3 separate regions of the Homo sapiens genome follow, and regions 1 and 3 are each linked to region 2. The links are contacts of gene promoters, found by promoter capture Hi-C in human tissues and cell types (Jung and others, 2019). All regions are on one chromosome and are shown on one strand. The core of a region is centred on a gene start or on the middle of the fragment in contact, and the rest is flanking DNA. Distances in the headings are between cores, read along the strand shown. Region 1 overlaps CPA6 (carboxypeptidase A6). Region 2 holds the start of CPA6 (carboxypeptidase A6). Region 3 overlaps CPA6 (carboxypeptidase A6).

The links. The method cuts DNA at HindIII sites, captures the fragments that hold promoters and counts their contacts. A contact is called where the count stands out against the background at its distance.
Region 1: a fragment that was not itself captured here is called in contact with the fragment with the promoter of CPA6 in region 2 in 3 of the 25 tissues and cell types used here (H1 embryonic stem cells, hippocampus and spleen).
Region 3: a fragment that was not itself captured here is called in contact with the fragment with the promoter of CPA6 in region 2 in 4 of the 25 tissues and cell types used here (H1 embryonic stem cells, adrenal gland, bladder and 1 more).

The regions. Positions count from the first base shown.
Region 1 is chr8:67,623,778-67,626,927 of GRCh38, reverse strand. CPA6 (carboxypeptidase A6) reads left to right here. Exons shown (of 11, transcript NM_020361.5): 2 at 2,677-2,752. Among named protein-coding and RNA genes, the nearest start is that of CPA6, 120 kb to the left of the region's middle. The HindIII fragment of the contact is 4,611 bases long and covers 1-3,150 here.
Region 2 is chr8:67,744,887-67,748,151 of GRCh38, reverse strand. CPA6 (carboxypeptidase A6) reads left to right here and starts at 1,792. Exons shown (of 11, transcript NM_020361.5): 1 at 1,792-2,138. The coding sequence starts at 2,023. RefSeq lists an enhancer at 1,466-1,966. The HindIII fragment of the contact is 6,623 bases long and covers 1,118-3,265 here.
Region 3 is chr8:67,670,945-67,674,356 of GRCh38, reverse strand. The region is part of intron 1 of CPA6 (carboxypeptidase A6); the gene reads left to right. Among named protein-coding and RNA genes, the nearest start is that of CPA6, 74 kb to the left of the region's middle. The HindIII fragment of the contact is 4,764 bases long and covers 1-3,412 here.

The DNA of each region.
Region 1 (3,150 bases), core at 166-2,665, 120 kb after region 2:
TTTGCAGAAGAGGAACTGATTGCCAGGTTGAATTATCCATCTTTAAAAAAAAAAAAAAAAGTTATTCTCATGGCTGTAAAACAGCTACAGATTGCTTTTCTTGCACTCTTGAGGAGCTGACAAGGCCCCAGATGGAGGTGTTTTTCAGCAAGCTGTCAAGTGATCCATCCATCAAAAACAGCCATATCACCCAGCCGAGCTTGCTTTCTCTGCCAAGAATTGTATTGGGTCAGATGAGAAAGGCCAGGGTATGATGAATCCAGAAAAAACACAGGTCAGAGAAATGTATATCAGAAAAGAGAAGAGATGTGGTTACATTTAAATTCCAAAGGTTATATTTAGATTTGTTTTACAGTGACTTGACAATTTTTTCCCGGTACTTTCTTTTATTCTTTCCAGAAATATGAACTTCATGACATTGATACTGAGAGGTGGTTTGTGTGATTTTGAGGAAATCAAAGCTGTAAAGTTCTGTTAGAGTAGCAGTCCATAAAACAGTAATTTATTATCAGCAAGCCAAGGGCCTTTTTATTCATAGGCCTAAAGGAGCTATTACAGGATCATTTGAAATAATAAAACTATCATGATTGGAAATAAACACAAAAGCCCTAAAAAATCATTGCCCAGCAAGTCCAGAAGTATCTCTAGGGATCTGATGCCCTCCATATTAGCCTTACTTCATCTTGGAAACTGCTATCCATCTGTATTATCCCACTCTCACACCACTATAAAGAAATACCTGAGACTGGGTAATTTATGAAGAAAATAGATTTAATCAACTCACAGTTCCACAGGCTTAACAGAATGCATGCCTGGGAGGCCTCAGGAAACTTACAATCATAGCAGAAGGGGAAGCAGGGACCTCCACATGGTGGCAGGAGAAAGAGGGAGCAAAGAAGGAGGTGACATACACTTTTAAACCATCAGATCTTGTGAGAAATCACTCACTATCACGAGAACAACAAGGGGAAAATATGCCCCCATGAACCAATCACCTTCCACCAAGCCCCTCCTCCAATTTGACATGAGATTTGGGTGGGGACACAATCCAAATCATATCATCATCTAAGAAGTAAAATGACAGAAAATCATGCAAATTCCATTCTTATTCCTGGTGCACCTTTGGGGTTGGAGAGACAAGTTGTAGGTGAAATAGTAGAGTTTTTGTTTTCTGCTTTATATTCTATTAATAATATTCTACCTTATCTTTAATCATTGTAAAATGCCATAGAGAGTTATGAAAAATATTAATTCCTACTGTGCTTTATTTACTTAGTTTTTCCTTTATATTTCATCTGGAAGCCAATTACTCTCAGCAATCTCCTTTATGCCAATCCATTAATATTTAATAAGCATCTACTCTATGCAAAAGACATTGAATAGTTGTGATTATTATGTGCTAGAGCTGTGCTTCCCAACCTGTCCTCATCATGACACACCTAAAAATTGATAGCCTACTTTTCTGGCACACCTGGGAGACAAGGCCCCCAAAGAGAAACTTTCTGACAGACACAGCAACACCTTAAGTCATCTTAGGTAATTCAGGACCTTTACAGAAAGAACCTTATATTGTGTTCAAATATAATTTCAACTGTGGTAAAACCTTTGTGGTTGTGAAACTGACCCAGTAGTCCTATAGAGATTTTTTTTGATAAACACAGGTGGATTCTTCTGGTCTTAAAGATTGAAACTTATATTTGTTTTATCTGAGTTCCTTCCTCAGAAAGTGACCTTCAGGCCTATCAAAAAGTATCAAAGAACTGAAAGAAACTCACCAGATCACATCCTGACAGTGAGATGCAAGACCCCTCATTCATTATGATTGCTTTCTTGCTCCTCCCTAGTTTCTGCTTGGTACACATTGTTACATTTCTTCCCTGCTATACACACCTGTAGTTTTTGTCCATCAGGGAGATGGATTTGAGACTGAGCTCCCATCTCCCTGGCTGCAGCACCTGATTAAAGCCTTCTTTCTTGGTAATAATCATCTTCTCAGTGATTGCTTTATGTGCAGAAAGCAGCAGGACCTAGACCAAACCCCTGGTGTTTTGGTAACAGTTGTAAACATTGATTTTTAATTTGTATCACTAAAAAATTTACAGCCATCAGTGTCTAACGCCGACGGCCCTCTTGTTTGGCCCCACAAGCCAGGTGGGAAGCTCTGTACCAGAGAAATGAGATGCCCCATAGAGATGGGCTTCTCCTTACTGTTCTCCATGTGGGAAGAATTCAAACCAGAAGCTTTCCCTAGTGTGTGGATTTCACATCCTCTCACTGAAAGTCACATTCCTTTTCAGCATTATGTTTAAAAAAAGAATGACTTTTCTTTCTTCTGTCATCAGAAATTTTCCTTCTTGGTATCTGCTCTGAGCAGCTCATGAAAGTTCCTGTCCCTCGTTGCCACTCTTTTTGTGTTTTTGGCCTTTTTCTGCATTTATAACATTAAATGTGAGTTTGTAATCTTCAAAAGCTGATGAAACACCAAATAGCTTTAAGACAAGAAGAAAAGAACAATGCAATCAGAGAATAAATTGGATAAAATACTTACTGGGCCAGTGAAAAGTTTCACTGTTTTTCTTCTTAAATGCAGAGGCAGTTTTTTAAGAGGTAAGAAAGAGATGACTAATATCTTTATTTTCGAAAAGTAATTATCATCTTTCTTTTCTTATCTTGTAGTGATAAAGTGATAAGATTTATTCCCAAAACAGAAGAGGAAGCATATGCACTGAAGAAAATATCCTATCAACTTAAGGTAATAGAACATCTACACACTTATGGTAGAATTGTGCTTGTGGAGTGTTTACAGGGATTTGCTGACTGGAGTTGAATAATTGGAATTTATTAGCCAAGAAAGTAAAGGCTAAGGAGATAACTTGAAAGAGCTTTTATTTTATTTTATTTTATTTTGTTTTATTTTATTTTATTTTATTTGAGACAAAGTCTCACTCTGTTGTCCAAGCTGAGGTGCAGTGGTGCGATCTCGGCTCACTGCAGCCTCCACCTCCCGGGTTCAAGCAATTCTCCGGCCTCTTAGTAGAGACGGGGTTTCACTATGCTGGCCAGGCTGGTCTTGAACTCCTGACCTCGTGATCCACCCACCTCAGCCTCTCAAAGTGCTGGCATTACAGGCATGAGCCACCGTGCCCAGCC
Region 2 (3,265 bases), core at 543-3,042:
AGTGCACAGGAAGACCAAAAGGATACAGTTCTGTATTCAAGGAGAAAGCAGCCTCATGAGGAAACCAGACAAGAAATTTGATGTGGTAATTCCTACAGTAGAGGACATGCCAGGATTTGTGAGGGACACAGAGGAGGCATTAACCAAACTGATGCTGAGAAAGTTGCAGAAAAATTCAGAGCATCATTTCAAATGAAAACCATTTCAGCTGTTTCATGAACCTGACATTGAATCTGTCAAAGGAGTTTTGGTTCAACTCCCCAGGTAGAGAAGATGGGAAAGATTGGGTGCTCTCTCTTCTAACAGGGACTCTGGCTATAGTATTAGAGGGTACAGGAGTTCTTGGCTATGACTCTCCAGGAAGCCTGAAAAGTTTTGTGAGTGTGATGAGGAAATAGTGGCTCACTCTCTGTTTTAGAGCACAACCAGGACTGGGCATGAAAGGTAACAGGAGGCACCCTAGGTGCCTATGCTTATTTAATAGGGCGAGGCACATCCCCTGTAATGGGTTTTGTGGCGTATTGGAATAGGAGCAAGTGGATGCAAATAATAATTTTAAAAAGCTTTCATCATCAACATGGGAAAAAAGAGAAGGAAATGGTTTTCTCCAAGGTTTGCTTGGAAGAAAAAGCAGACCTCATTCTAAAGTGAAGTCTTGCTACTCCAAGTGTGGCTGAAGAGCCAGTGGCACCAGCATCACCTGGAAGCTTCTTTAGAAATGCAGACTCGGCCAGGCGTGGTGGCTCACACCTGTAATCCCAGCACTTCGCAAGGCCGAGACAAGCAGATTGCCTGAGGTCACGAGTTCAAGACCAGCCTGACCGACATGGGGAAACCTCGTCTCTACTAAAAATACAAAAATTAGCTGGGCGTGGTGGTAGGCACCTGTAATCCGAGCTACTCAGGAGGCTGAGGCAGGAGAATCGCTTGAACCTGGGAGGCGGAGGTTGCAGTGAGCCGAGATGGGGACTTGGCACTCCATCCAGCCTGGGCAACAAGAGCGAAACTCTGTCTCAAAAAAGAAAAATAAAAACTCTTAGGCCCCTGTTCCAACCTACGTCAGAGCTGCAGTTTAATGAGATCCCCAGGTGACTTCTATGCATGTGGAGCTCTGAGAAGCCCTGCTCCAGACCAGCATGGTGGTTGAATATTGGAATCACCTAAGGAGCTTTTTAAACCACTGATCCCACCACCACGGTTTCTATTTTCAAGGTCTGGCTCCCTAAATGATTCCAAATGTACAGCCAAGGTGGCAAAGCACTCGAAGGCCTCCTATTCCCCACGAGAACCTCTGAAACAGCAGCAGGTCTGGGTGCTGCTGATGCAGAATGAGTACCAAGATCTCCCTGAAGCCCAATAAAGCCACTGACCACTCCTGTAAGTCAGGAGCAGTGAACTGAAGCCAGCTGTTCGGATCTGGGTGCTATAGGTACCCCCGTGCACGTTCTCATCATGATTGTTCATTGTGCATTTCATTAGGTGGAATCCGTTTAGGAATCTGTCATGGGAGATCAAAAAAACATTAAGCTTGGAATAATCCATGTCTGCTTGTTTAGCCCATCAGACAAATCATTTGCAATTAGGTAGGATCCTCATGCTGAAGAAGATAGAGAAAGAAAGCTTGCACAGAAAAGTTAGAGGCCTCAAGTTGGGAAAGCAAACAAACCAAAAGCAGAGAGGAGTCACCCAAAGGAAGCAGCACCCAGTGAACCCCTGCCGTGAGTCAGCACGAGGGAGGCCCAGCCCTTTCTAGGGGAGCCTGATTAAAGATCAGGCTCAGCTGCTGCTGCTGCTGCTGCTGCTTGTCCCAAGACCAAGTCGTAATAGCAACTTCCCTTCCTCAGCTGCCTGAACTTTTTTTTTCCCTTGTAGCTGGAGAGAAGTGTCACATTTTGCTCACTCTCAACCTTCCTCGCCCACCCCCTTCCCGGAGAACCTGTGCGGTGTGTAGAGGGTGCTGTGAGCCACCTCCAGCCTCGGGTGGCTGCTTAAGTAACTTTCAACTCCTCTCTTCTTAACACTATGAAGTGTCTCGGGAAGCGCAGGGGCCAGGCAGCTGCTTTCCTGCCTCTTTGCTGGCTCTTTTTGAAGATTCTGCAACCGGGGCACAGCCACCTTTATAACAACCGCTATGCTGGGTAAGTGGAGCGACATTCATGCCCTACACAGCTTTGATTTGGATCTGGGGGCTGGTTTGCTCCAGAGTGTGCCTCACTTTTTCTGATTTGGGGGTCTCTGAGTGAATCTGCACACTTTCACGGTCCTCTATATAAAATGTACTCACAGCTCTCTGCTCTTGGCTTTAGCTCACTGAGAGAATGTGGTGGGCTCCAACCTGGCTTTTTATACTTTTTATCATGTGCCAACCTTAGCTGTGGACCCAGGGTTGAATGGGATTCTGTCTTTGGAGTAGCCATGGTCAGTATTTACAGTGTTTGCCTTGGTTGATGCTTGGGGATGCTGTTGTCCTACATGATTTATGACCTGAAAACTAAGCCTTTCTTTACAATTGTATGTAGGAGCGGTGGGTTGAAATTCATCAGTGATTAAGAACTGAGTGTGATTTTTTTTTTGTCTGTGCTTATTAGTCTGTAGAGTGGTTATTAGATTTTTAAATATGAGCAATGCAAATGATTCAACTCAAAATAAGCAGAATAAAAGTAGTCAACTGTAAAATTATGGATAGTTTTTCTGAAGGAAAAACATAGGAGTAAAACAATCAGTTTTGTCCCCCCTCCGTAGGTAAGCATGCTTTCTATATGCCTTTCTTCAGGAGGCAGAGGGCTGGAAGCCGTGTGTTACTATGCACATTCTTATTATCCTGAAGGCTTGCTGTGGTATAGACAGCATGTGATTTGCTCACATATGCAGGGGGTCGTTCTTAGAATCTGGAAATTATGGCTTGCCTGCACTTTAGATCTGGAAAAACCTTAAATACTTCCTCTAGTTCAATTCCTTTTTACAGAGGAGTAAACTCAGTGTCTTACATATTTTTAAATAGGCTACTATCATTCAATAATCACCACCTGAGAAAAGTTTTCATGTAGATCTGGATCATGACAAGGTAGTGTACAGTGTCTTAAAACCAAGTTGTTCTTTTTAGAAATAGTGTAAAAGAGAATTTGTAAGTGTGACCCTGGAAAAGAGAATTGTATTTCTCTTTCTCTCCCAAAGAATCTTGGCACTGCCTTTAGGGTTCCTCTGAATACAGTGCTTACAGAGGAAATTTTGGAAACATGTCCTCAGTTTTAGGGGAGGCAGGATG
Region 3 (3,412 bases), core at 122-2,621, 73 kb after region 2:
GTTACAGCTAAGGGGCTTTAGCATTAAAGCAATCTTGGAGTCGTAACATAACTTTGCACCCAAGGCAGGCATTTTATCTACATCATTCCTCACAAATGCTCAGGTAGTCTCTGCAGTACAGCCTGACTCCTAAGCCTGAGCCCTGAAATCAGACTTCAGTTCAAATCCTGGCTCTGCCACTCACTAGCTATATGACGTTAGGCTTACCCTCTCTGTCATGTCATGACAACTGTAGAATGGAGAGAATAATTCCAGCTATTTCACAACTGTAGAATGGAGAGAATAGTTCCAGCATCATAGGATTGTTCTATGATGGTAACACGGTACATATAAAATGACACAGAATATGGCATATAGTAAATGTTCAATAAATGGTAGCTATGATTGTCATCAACTCAAACAGCCTCCCTTCATTCACCTTTACCTCATAAAGCAACTCTTTCTAGAATGTTCTATATATAACAATTGTATTAAAGGCTTCTTGAAGGAGAAGCCATTTGTTTGTGTCTTTGTTCAACACCAGGCTCCTGATGCTTTCAGTAGTGTCTGGCGCACAGCAGGCATTTAAAAAATATTTGTTAAATGAATTTTATAGAATTAAGTCTATCACACTCTTTTGAGTACTAAAATGCTATTATAGTCTGTGGATAAAAATAATAAAACAAGGCCAGGCGCAGTGGCTCACACCTGTAATCCCAGCACTTTGGGAGGCCGAGGTGGGTGGATCATGAGGTCAGGAGATTGAGACCATCCTGGCTAACACGGTGAAACCCCGTCTCTACTAAAAATACAAAAAAAAAAAAAAATTAGCCGTGAGTGGTGGCGGGCACCTGTAGTCCCAGCTACTCAGGAGGCTGAGGCAGGAGAACGGCATGAACCCGGGAGGCGGAGCTTGCAATGAGCCCAGATCGCGCCACTGCACTCCAGCCTGGGTGACAGAGCGAGATTCAGTCTCAAAAAAAAAAAAATAAATAAATAATAATAATAATAATAATAATAATAAATTGAAAGAGATTATAAAATAAAAATCATGCAACACTGAACATTGAAATCCAAATCCAAATTTAAAATCATTGTATATCATAGTATCCAATGTGAATATCCCTATTTTGCCCCTTCAGGATGTAGTTTGAATGAATGCCGCCAAATACAGTCAGAGAAGAGAGGTGAATGTAAGAAAAACAAGATCCAAAGAATTTAGACCTAGCGTGGGATCTCTGTCTCTTTCATTGAGCAAGGAGGTTTTGTCTCCTTTGTTCTTTTCCACAGTTCATCTTTGTATATTTCTCTCTGGGCTACATTTGATTAGCTGCCCAGTGTACCAGTCCTTTCAAATCATACGTAGTTGCATTGTTTCTTACAGTAGAATTTGCTATTGCCCCCAAGTTTCTATCATCCGTAAGTTTTGAAACTCACTTGGCTACATAAAAAACTGATTTAAAAAAAAAGTTAGTGAAATAATACCTTCCTCTGTAATGCCTGCATCATCCTAGAAGCTTAAAGCTAATGAGGCAGTTAGGGCTTATTTGTTCAAGGAAGACTCTGATTTGGCATTTCATCCATTTTAAAAGCAAAACATCATTTTGTGGGACTTAGAATAAAACATCTTGATTGTGTTCCAAGCAGGACTTTAGACCGGTTTGATGCCTAGGTTAATGGCATTTCAATTATACTGTTTTCAAAATGAAATATAAATTGTTCCGGGTTTTTGTCCCTGTGTGTTCATATTGGGCCCGAGCTCTATGAGAAACCTCCTCCCAAGTATTCTGGAAGACCCTAGGGTGCTGGAGAGACATGGTTGGATTTGACTTGACATGGGAGGGTGGAGTAAAAGGACTCGATGATGGATTGGCTGAGTGATGAGGAGAAGGACAGGAGGACTTGTAGGTTACTGGCTTGAGGAGTGGGATAGATAGTGGTGCCTTTTAGTGAAACAAGGGGAAAAAATGGGAAGAGGAACTGACTTGGGTTGCACAGGAATATAATGGCAATCTATCTAAAAGTTTGTACGCATTGGAAGAAAATTTTACACACGGAGTGGAATGAAAATGAGTTCAAAGACAAAACTATGATATAAAATGTTCCAGTTATATTTAGACTCCTTTGGATACATTGAAAATTGTGATGTATTTTTAAATGTTAATATTTACAATATACTGAAATACTTTGTTCATGCCATTAAACTGATAATGAAAAATATTAGAGCCAACTTAAAAATGCATGAGAAGGCCGGGTGCGGTGGCTCACACCTGTAATCCCAGCACTTTGGGAGGCTGAGACAGGTGGATCACATGAGGTCAGGAGTTCAAGACCAGCCTGGCCAATATGGTGAAACCCTGTCTCTACTAAAAATACAAAAATTAGCTGGCTGTGGTGGTGCGCACCTGTAATTCCAGCTACTCAGGAGGCTGAGGCAGGAGAATTGTTGAACCTGGGAGACAGAGGTTGCAGTGAGCCAAGATTGCACCACTGCACTCCAGCCTGCACAATAGAGTGAAATCCCTTCTAAAAAACATAAAATACAATAAAATTTAATTTAAAAAATAAAATAATGCTGGTTCTCCAAAGTTATTTTGGGAGTACATAAGCAAAAGTGTTTGCAGATCACTGCAAAAGAAAACTTAGGAAACATCCTAGCCTGCACAAAGGAGTTCTAATGTCAAATGTTTTCTTAGCAATAGGGAAATAAAAGCATTTTTCAGAAGCCTTCTGCTTCTGAAGCAAACTATGCATTAGTGTGTTTCAGATTCGAGGAAAGCAAGCCCTTTAGTCAAGTAGCAGAGCTGGGCACACAGGTATAGACAGTATAAGGCCAGAATCATATAGAAGCAGTATTTTATCTTGTTTCATGTATTTTTATAGCTTAGGTATCTCAGCCTGATTCTTAACTATTTCCATTAGCATCACCAATGAACCCTACTGAACACTACAGCAAGGTGATCCTGCTGAACAGGAGCTTGGTGAAGAGCCACTCCTGCTGAGTGGGCTGCAGTGGGGATGGGGGAGGAGTACAATGATAGGAAATAAAAGGATGGCAAAGCCTAGGATAGGGGAGGTGGTACCACAGCTGCAGACAACTGAAAGACAAATGTGGCAGCAGATTTTAATTTCAGCAAATATTTAATGAGCCCCTAATCTGAGATAGACACCATTGTGGGGTATCAGCAAGATTGAGGTGATTGTTCTCAAGGCTGACGACGTGACAGAGCATTTTTTAAAACAGCCCTGGGCTCCCTGTCAACTGCAGTCAACCAGCCAGAATAAGAATTCACATCAGTGGATAGAAAAATACTATTTTCCATCACCAAATGAAACTGAAGATACCTCCAGATCTATCATCTTGAATTGTCCAGAGGACAAAGATGGTAGAACATATGTGAGTTTATGTGTTTGTGTCTACAGATGAATTATT